Linked DNA regions of Homo sapiens: regions 1 and 2 are each linked to region 3. Evidence: promoter capture Hi-C in 16 types of primary human blood cells and fetal thymus (Javierre and others, 2016). All regions are on one chromosome and are shown on one strand. Each heading gives the region's core, a stretch centred on a gene start or on the middle of the fragment in contact. The rest is flanking DNA. Distances are from core to core; before and after follow the strand shown. Region 1 overlaps CCDC186 (coiled-coil domain containing 186). Region 2 has its middle 61 kb from the start of MIR2110. Region 3 holds the start of PLEKHS1 (pleckstrin homology domain containing S1).

The links. The method cuts DNA at HindIII sites, captures the fragments that hold promoters and counts their contacts. A CHiCAGO score of 5 or more calls a contact.
Region 1: a contact is called between a fragment that was not itself captured here and the fragment with the promoter of PLEKHS1 in region 3, in 1 of 17 cell types (M2 macrophages). The highest score is 5.5, in M2 macrophages.
Region 2: a contact is called between a fragment that was not itself captured here and the fragment with the promoter of PLEKHS1 in region 3, in 4 of 17 cell types (endothelial precursors, erythroblasts, megakaryocytes and 1 more). The highest score is 6.8, in endothelial precursors.

Annotation. Positions count from the first base shown.
Region 1 is chr10:114,140,887-114,143,586 of GRCh38, forward strand. All of the region lies in intron 6 of CCDC186 (coiled-coil domain containing 186), which reads right to left. Among named protein-coding and RNA genes, the nearest start is that of MIR2110, 32 kb to the right of the region's middle. The HindIII fragment of the contact is 1,655 bases long and covers 507-2,161 here.
Region 2 is chr10:114,111,861-114,114,560 of GRCh38, forward strand. No RefSeq gene overlaps it. Among named protein-coding and RNA genes, the nearest start is that of MIR2110, 61 kb to the right of the region's middle. The HindIII fragment of the contact is 1,530 bases long and covers 569-2,098 here.
Region 3 is chr10:113,750,280-113,752,979 of GRCh38, forward strand. PLEKHS1 (pleckstrin homology domain containing S1) reads left to right here and starts at 1,403. Exons shown (of 13, transcript NM_001395068.1): 1 at 1,403-1,482. The HindIII fragment of the contact is 1,743 bases long and covers 1-1,536 here.

The DNA of each region.
Region 1 (2,700 bases), core at 84-2,583, 390 kb after region 3:
GTCATTTCTGAATCTTTTTTTTTTTTAAGACACAGGACAGGATCTTGCTGTGTTGCCCAGGCTGGAGTGCAGTGGCATGATCATAGCTTCAACTCCTGGGCTCAAGTGATCCTCCCATCTCAGCCTCCCAAGTGGCTAGGACTACAGGCATACACCACCACACCTGGCTAATTTTTAAAGTTCTTTGTGTAGAGATGGGGACCTCGCTATGTTGCCCAGGCTGGTCTCAAACTCCTGACCTCAAGCAATCCTCCCACCTCAGCCTCCCCAAGTGCTAGAATTACAGGTGTGAGACACCGTGCCTGGATCTGTTCCTACTGATCTAGTGTTCCTTCCTTCTCATGATGGGCTCCATTTTCCTGCCTCTTTGCATGCCTGGTAATTTTTGACTGGATGCCAAACACAGTAAATTTATGCTTTTAGGTGCCAGAGTTCTTCGTAGTCATTTAAATATTTTGGGCCTTTGTTTTGGGACATAGTAAATTTACTTGAAACAAATTATTTGAAGCTTGCTTTTAAAGTTTTGTTAAGGCAGATTTATAACAGACTTAATCTAAGGCAAATTCATCCTCACAACTAAAGCAATAACCTTCTGGGGGCTGCTTGATGCAGCCCTGCCTGATGTGTGTTGAGAGGTCATTTCTCTTTGACTGATGGAAACATGAACAATTTCCTAGCCTTGTGGGAGCTCTAGGGATTGTTGCCCCTATTTCTTCCCCCTCCTCTGTAGTTTCCTCTCTTAACACACACACACACACGCACGCACACACATACACGCACGCACGCACACATGTACTGATCAGTAGTCAGCTGAAGACTTGAAGGGAACTCACTGCACATTGTTGTATTTTTCTCTTTTCTGGGACTCTGCCTTGGTTCCCCATATTTTGAACTCTATCTCCTCAATTCAGGTAGACTGCTGGGCTGTCCAGGTTCTTCTTGTTCTGCAGACTGGAACTCTCCAGGAATACCTCATTTGTTTCCCTTCACTCAGAGATCACTGTCCTATGCTGCCTGTTGTCTCAAGTCTGAAAGCCTTCATTTCATATATTTTGTCTTTTGTTTTTTAAGGTAGAAGGGTAAATTTGGACCTTGTTATTCCATAATACAATATAGTCAATAGAATACAGTTATAGAACACTACAGTTATAGAACATAGAATATAGTTTTATTAAGTGAGATAAAATGGCAAAGCAAATAAGAAGCCCATTCTGGCTTCTAATGACTGGGCCTTCTGAGTAAACAAACCATTTAAGAATGACACTATCACTGACAACACGACAGCCTCGGGAGAAGAGCTTATTAAGCAACAGTCTTACCTCGGGTGACCTAGTGTACAGAACATATCATAAAATACACCAAGCCCTTGTCACACATTAGGCCTGTACTATATTACCATCTACAACCTCCTGCTGGTCTAGCTTCTGGGTCCAAGAATATTCTTCTAGCTTTCTCTGAAGCAGTTATGTCTGGCAAGCACCCAGCATAGTCAAACCATGGCAGCCAAAGAACCACAGCCACATCTATTGCTAGCCGTATATACGTTCAGTGAGATTATCTCATCCTGATATCAGGTAGGTGAATAAGTAGCAACCAGGTAGGCAAACAAGTAGATGAGGTACACTGGGGGAAATTCATCTTTATTTACTGTACTCCAAATAAAAGGCTTCTGTTTTTACAGGCTAGGTGTTTAAAACACATTTTCAGTTAAATCCCAAAGGAGTTTAGGGAAGGAAACAAATTGTTTCTCTTGGGTAGTCTGATGATCTGGGTAGCCAGCCCACCTACTCTTAAGTTCTGGTAATATGCACTGGGGGTCTGACCAGAAGCTACTGATCACAATGGATCCAGTAAGCTACAGGACTGCAGTATTATTAGTACCTAAGACTTGGTGGGCAGGAACCAGAAACCAGAAAGGGTGCCTCAAGAAAAATTTACTAAGTGTCTCGTGTCTCTTGCCCACATCTCAAGAGGTAGACTATAATAACCACATGATTATTAAATCTTGTATCCTTTGATCCAGGGACTCCTTCCAACATCCAATAGGTAAATACATAAAACAAGTAACCGGGAGCCCATCTTGGACACTCTTTGAAAGTAACGACTGTGTCTCCTAAGGCTTTTATAGCCTCCAAGTTATCTAATACAGTGTTATGCACAAAGCTTGCTGGTTAATAAATGCCTTTAGTTAAAAAGAACTAGTGAATTTCTACATACCAAGTCAATATGCTTGTTCATTTTCTAGCAATCTGCACCATGTAACCTTACAGAAGTCAGCCTTAAATCACCTCTCTAACCTATTTACAGACTACCTGGTTTCATCTGAGCTCAAAGCTGCCATTAAGATCTCTTACACAGATCTGTAACAGTTCTTTTGTTCCTAAGTGCTAGTATTCTAACAGGTTTCAGGAGCCTGTCTCTTAGCACTCTGGATGAAGATGAGGAAAGTACCACAGATATCAGACATGACCAAGTATGATGTTCTGATCTTGAAGCAACTCAGGTAGTTGAGAATCATTACTGTTTTTATGAATTTGGAATTTCAATTCCTCATTCTGTAACTCAAAGTAAAGAGAAAATTTAGATGGCTTAGCCGTGTTGAGCTCCAGAGACTGTCATCCTCCTCCTTTCTGAAAATTCTTTCTCTGCCTTGGCAGTTCCCTCACACATGTGCTGATTAGTAGGTCAGCTTCAGACTTG
Region 2 (2,700 bases), core at 84-2,583, 360 kb after region 3:
TTTTAATAGAGATGGGGTTTCACCATGTTGGCCAGGCTGGGCTCGAATACCTGACCTCAAGTGATCTGCCCACCTTGGCCTCCCAAAAGTGCTGGGATTACAGGCGTGAGCTACAACACCCGGCCAATTTTATTTTTTTGAGGAGTCTCGATCTGTTGCCCAGGGTGGAGTGCAGTGGTGTAATCTCTACTCACTGCAACCTCCGTCTCCCAGGTTTAAGCGATTCTCGTGCTTCAGCCTTCCAAGTAGCTGGGATTACAGGCTCCCGCCACGATACCCAGCAAATTTTTATATTTTCAGTAGAGACAGGGTTTCACTATGTTGGCCAAGCTAATCTTGAACTCCTGACCTCAGGTGATCCACCTGCCTTGGCCTCCCAAAATGCTGAGATTACAGGCGTGACCCACCGCTCCTGGCCTAGCACATGTTTCTTGCTTAGCATAATGGCTGAGTCCAAGTGGCAGCAATGAGTCCATCAAAACACACATCATTTGAGTTAGGAGCAGTGCTTAAGTTATATGTGTTGCTTTGGAAGCACCACAGAACCTCAGCAAAGTATTGAGGGGAAAGCTTTATTACATTTAAGAGAATGAGAGCGAAGCATGTGGCGGGGTGACAGGTATGGAGACGCCGCTGCTTGTCTGGCTGCTCATCTTCATCAGCACCATCTCTGTGTCCCACACAAAGGGTGGCTGGAAATGAAACATCTAGACCTCCCTCCAAGGGAGGTTCGAGATGCGATTCATGCGAACACCTCCCTTTTGTTGGAATTAGTAAACATCCCAATCCTTACGGGGCTTTTTCTCTTTTCTTCCCCATTCCTACAAAAAGGTAACTGCCCCCCCCCGACACACACACACACACACACACACACACACACACACACACACACACACAATGTATATGATAGAACCAGGCCCTCAGGACAGAAGCTGTGTGAGAATGTCAGACAATTATGAATTTAAAAGCTCCAGCCATCTGAACACTTCCCCTGCTGACTTTGTGTGGTTGTGCACAAGAGGAAGGGGCTGGGTTGAGAATGAGTAGAACACGCACACAGCATTCTTCCATTCTTCCATTGTACTTATTCTCCAAATGCAGTGGCTACACCTACCAATCCACTTGTAGAAATGGGATTAGGCTCCAAGTGTTTCTCGGTAGCTGTTGAAAAGTCAAACCAAGGTCTGAAACTGGAATTGGATTATAGATCTCAGTTGATGCTGCTCAAAAGAGCGTGGCTCTCTTTCAGCAACACACATCACCTTCTCCCACCTCTTCCCAAACTCAGTCTGTTCCAAAGAAATCAGAAAATTGAACAATAGGATCTTTCTAGACAATAAATATATACATACACATACTATCTCCACACTCTCCCCCTTTTACCTTGCTAGAGGGTCAGGCATATAGCCCTCTAAAAATCAGGATATGATTCTTAGAATAATAATTTTTAAAGTTAACTATAGCAAAAGTAGTACATACTCGCTGAAAAACTTCCAGTAACAGAAAAATATAAATTCAAATAGAAAGTCCACCACTCTATAATGTGATTTTCAGGAGAAACCACTGTGGAGTCTGGTATGTATCCATTCAGAACTTTTTCTTTGCATATACACATGAATGCATATTTAAAGGTATTTTTTCCCTTTGTTGCAAAGTTTATGCTATTAAAGCAACAATTTTTACAGTACACATATATATGCATCCTTCAACTTTTTTTAATAATTATTTTTTTAGAAACAGAAATTAGACCTCTATTTTTGAAGATTTAGCTTAATAATATGTCCATGTCGCAGAGCTTTGCAGTTTTCAAAGTTCTTTCCCATGCATTATCCTGTTCACTCCACAGAATGGCTCTGCAAGGTGAGCTTTCTCATCCCCTTTTACAGATGAGAAAACTGAAGCTCAATGAGGTGGGTGATTTGTAAAAGGTTTCACAAAAAGTGGCAAGGTAGGGTCTTCCAAGTCCAAGTCCAGGGACCCTTACAGTCCTCTGTTGCCTCCTCTAGTTGGCTCTGAAGGAGATGGGCAGGAAAGGGAGTCTCTGTTACAGTCATCCACAAGGCAGTGCACGGGAAGTTATGTGTACAGGTAATTTAAAAGCTTAAGGAACACCTGGCTGGCACGATTGCTCACGTCTGTAATCCCAGCACTTTGGGAGGCCGAGGCAGGTGGATAGCTTGAGCCCAGGAGTTCGAGACCAGCCTGGGCAACATAGAGAAACTCTGTCTCTACGAAAAATACAAAAAAATTAGCTGGGCGTAGTGACACATGCCTATAATCCCAGCTACTGGGAGGCTGAGAGAGGAGAATCACCTGAGCCTGGTAAGTTGAACCTGCAGTGAGCCCTGACTATGCCACTGTTCTCCAGCCTGGGTAACAGAGTGAGACCCTGTATCAAAAAAAAAAAAAAAAAAAAAAAAAAGCTTAAGGAACACCTATTCACTGTCCAGACTGTCAAGAAAATTATGATGTGATTTATTACCTATGATTCCCCCTCCAAACACCTTTACAGTTTAAGAGGAAACAAAATGATTGTTTTTATTTCCCTTCTTTGACTGTGGTTAGAGGAAAAGCTAAGTCAAAAGACAATCAAAAGGTGAAAATAGAGGCACCAAGTCTCCAACAAAGAGTTTACTAGATCACACGCTCTTATGCATGGGCATCTTCTTTAAACTAATTATTGGTACTTTTGTTAAAAGC
Region 3 (2,700 bases), core at 153-2,652:
AAGCTGTACAGGAAGCATAGTCCTGGCATCTCTCAGCTTCTGAGAAGACCTCAGGGGGCTTTCTTTTACGCATGGTGGAAGGTGAGGCGGGAGTAGCCATGTCACCTGGTGGGAGTGGGAGCAGTAGAGTTGGGGGAGATGCCACACACTTTTAAATAAAGACCTCAGTACAACTCACTATCTCAGACACAGAACCAAGCCATGAGGGATCCACCCCCAGGACCCAACACCTCCAGCCAGACTCCACCTCCATCACTGGGGATTACATCTCAACATGAGATTTGGAGGGGACATCCAAACTATATCAAAATTAAGAAATTGTTTTTCCTAAATCAAGCAAAACTGGTCCTGTGCAGGAAGCAAACAATATATCAATAATTTCTGTATGCCTGAAGTCCAGCTAGGTTTGCTAAATGAAGAAACCAATAACATCTACCCTCCATAGGATGCAAAAGAGAAAAACAAAGAAATACCCTCTGTTGAATGCTAACTGTGGATAAAGCACTGTGCTAGATGCTTTTTATATGTGAAATTTTACTTAACTTTAAAAAAAAATCCTGTGAAGTCAGTATTATCTGTTCCATTTTGCAGATGAGGAAACAGACTCAGAGAACTCCAGTTAACTTGCCAAGACCACACAATGGATCCATGGCAGAGCTGATTCCAGACCAGCTACCCTCGTGAGGATGAGGATTCAAATGATGTACTTTTACTTCTAAAGGCAGTAGAACAGGATAAAATTCATCATCACTTCTTCCTCTCCCCTAGAAATCTGTAATACACATGAAAATATACCTAAGACCCTTTGGTGGCTGGATACCACTCACCAGGTCTAAGAATGATGGTTTGCTCAATTGCTGTTGGTGGCTGTGCAGGGGAACATGCCTAGCGCCACCCTGTTGATGGTAACACTCTGTCATGGCTGAATGAGCAACTCTTCCTGGAAACCATTGGCATGTACAAGTGTTTAGAGAAGCCAGGCTTTTGTTTCCTCATCTGGTACAAAGGAACCCTTTCTACCCTTCCCAGGAAGACATTGGTTAAGATATGGCTGAGGGAGGCATAGGGATTTTTTTTCAATGGTAGTCACCACAGACGGTTGAGGGTAAATTGGCGTTGTTCTCAATAAGGGTTATTGTGACCATGGTCCAAAGTCTGGCAGGAATTTTTTTTTATTATTAATGTGTTTGCTTTCATTTTTGGTGCTAGGCAGCTGGGACACCAAGGAGAGTTCTGTGGCAAGCCACAAGTATGAAGGCCCAGAACTTCCCCTGAGGGCATAGCTTCCATTTCAGTTTGGGGCAAGAATAAAATCTGCTCAAGGATATTAGTTTGGGAACTTCCTGGTGGTTCAGATTTCAAGCAGAGTTTGTGCTTAATCCTCACCCAGGCACCAAGGCTCAGAGTCAGCAGGAGTGAGTTCAGGAATCCTCGGGACAAGGCACTTTCCTGAGCACTGGACCAGCGACCTCTTGGCTTCCAGTAAGTACTGCTTGGTGTATCTGGTTTGGACTTCCAAGGCTGGGATGATCTAGAAGCTTTTTTGCAATTGAACAATTGCAAAATTGGAAATGGAAAATTTTGCAGATATGCTGTATTTCTGTTATGGGCACTTTCTTCATAAGCTTCCTAGGCTATACTATAGTCAGAGGGAAATAGGACTGACCTCTTGGTATACTGTATTCACCAAATCCAAAATAATGTTATAATAAATGGGTCAGGCAGTGACTGTGGGGAGATTCTCCTGAATGAGATCAAACAGCTAAATCAGAAAGGCTTTCTTTTTTGTTTGGGGGCAATGACAAGAAAAACAAGCAGAACTATGAAAAGACTTAATTCTACTTTCTTAGATAGGAGGAAAAGCAAAGTAGTTAAGGCCAGCTCTCAAGCTAGAATTCTGGTTCTGCTTCTTTTTAATTACATGATCAAAGTAAAGTTGTTTAATCTCTCCGATAACCATTTCCTCGTCTGTAAATGGGCATTGTATCATTGTGAAAACAGTGCAAGCTTTAGAGTACGGTTATGAGGTTAGGATGAGATTTTATATGTATATGTGAAATTATATGTATACATATACATAAAATCTTTCATATACATATTGCTTAGAAGTGCCTGGAATGTATTAAGTACTCAAAAAATGCTACCCATTATTAAACAACCATAGAATCATAGAATATCTGAGCTGGAAAGGACCTAACAACTAGCATTTATTGAGCTTCTATTATGTACTGAGGAGTGCTCATCAACAGGGTATCTCAAGTGATACTCCCAGCAATCTGATGAGGGTAGTAATAACCTTCATGTTACAGATGAAGAAATGGAGGTGTAGAGAAGTATTATAAAGTATCCAAGATCACATTCCTCATAATTCATGGAGATGAAATTTAAACCCAGATGCCAGAGCTAACACTCTAAACCACCACACCCTACTGCCTTATCTGTCCTCTCATTTTACGGTGGGTGGGGAGATGAAGGAGGAATGGTTGCAGCACATGACTCTGGAGCCCTTTGCAGACACTGGAAGGACAGAGATGTCCTCCAAAGCACACTTTGACATCCACAGGGCACAGGGAGGGCAAATGTTATTTGGGAGTGTCCATGAGCATGAATGTGGTGCTGTGTGGAGTTCTGCCAGGGGACCTAGGTCCAAGTCATCTCAGTCTTCTCTCAAATGCAGCTTTTCATTTGTAAAATGAGCTA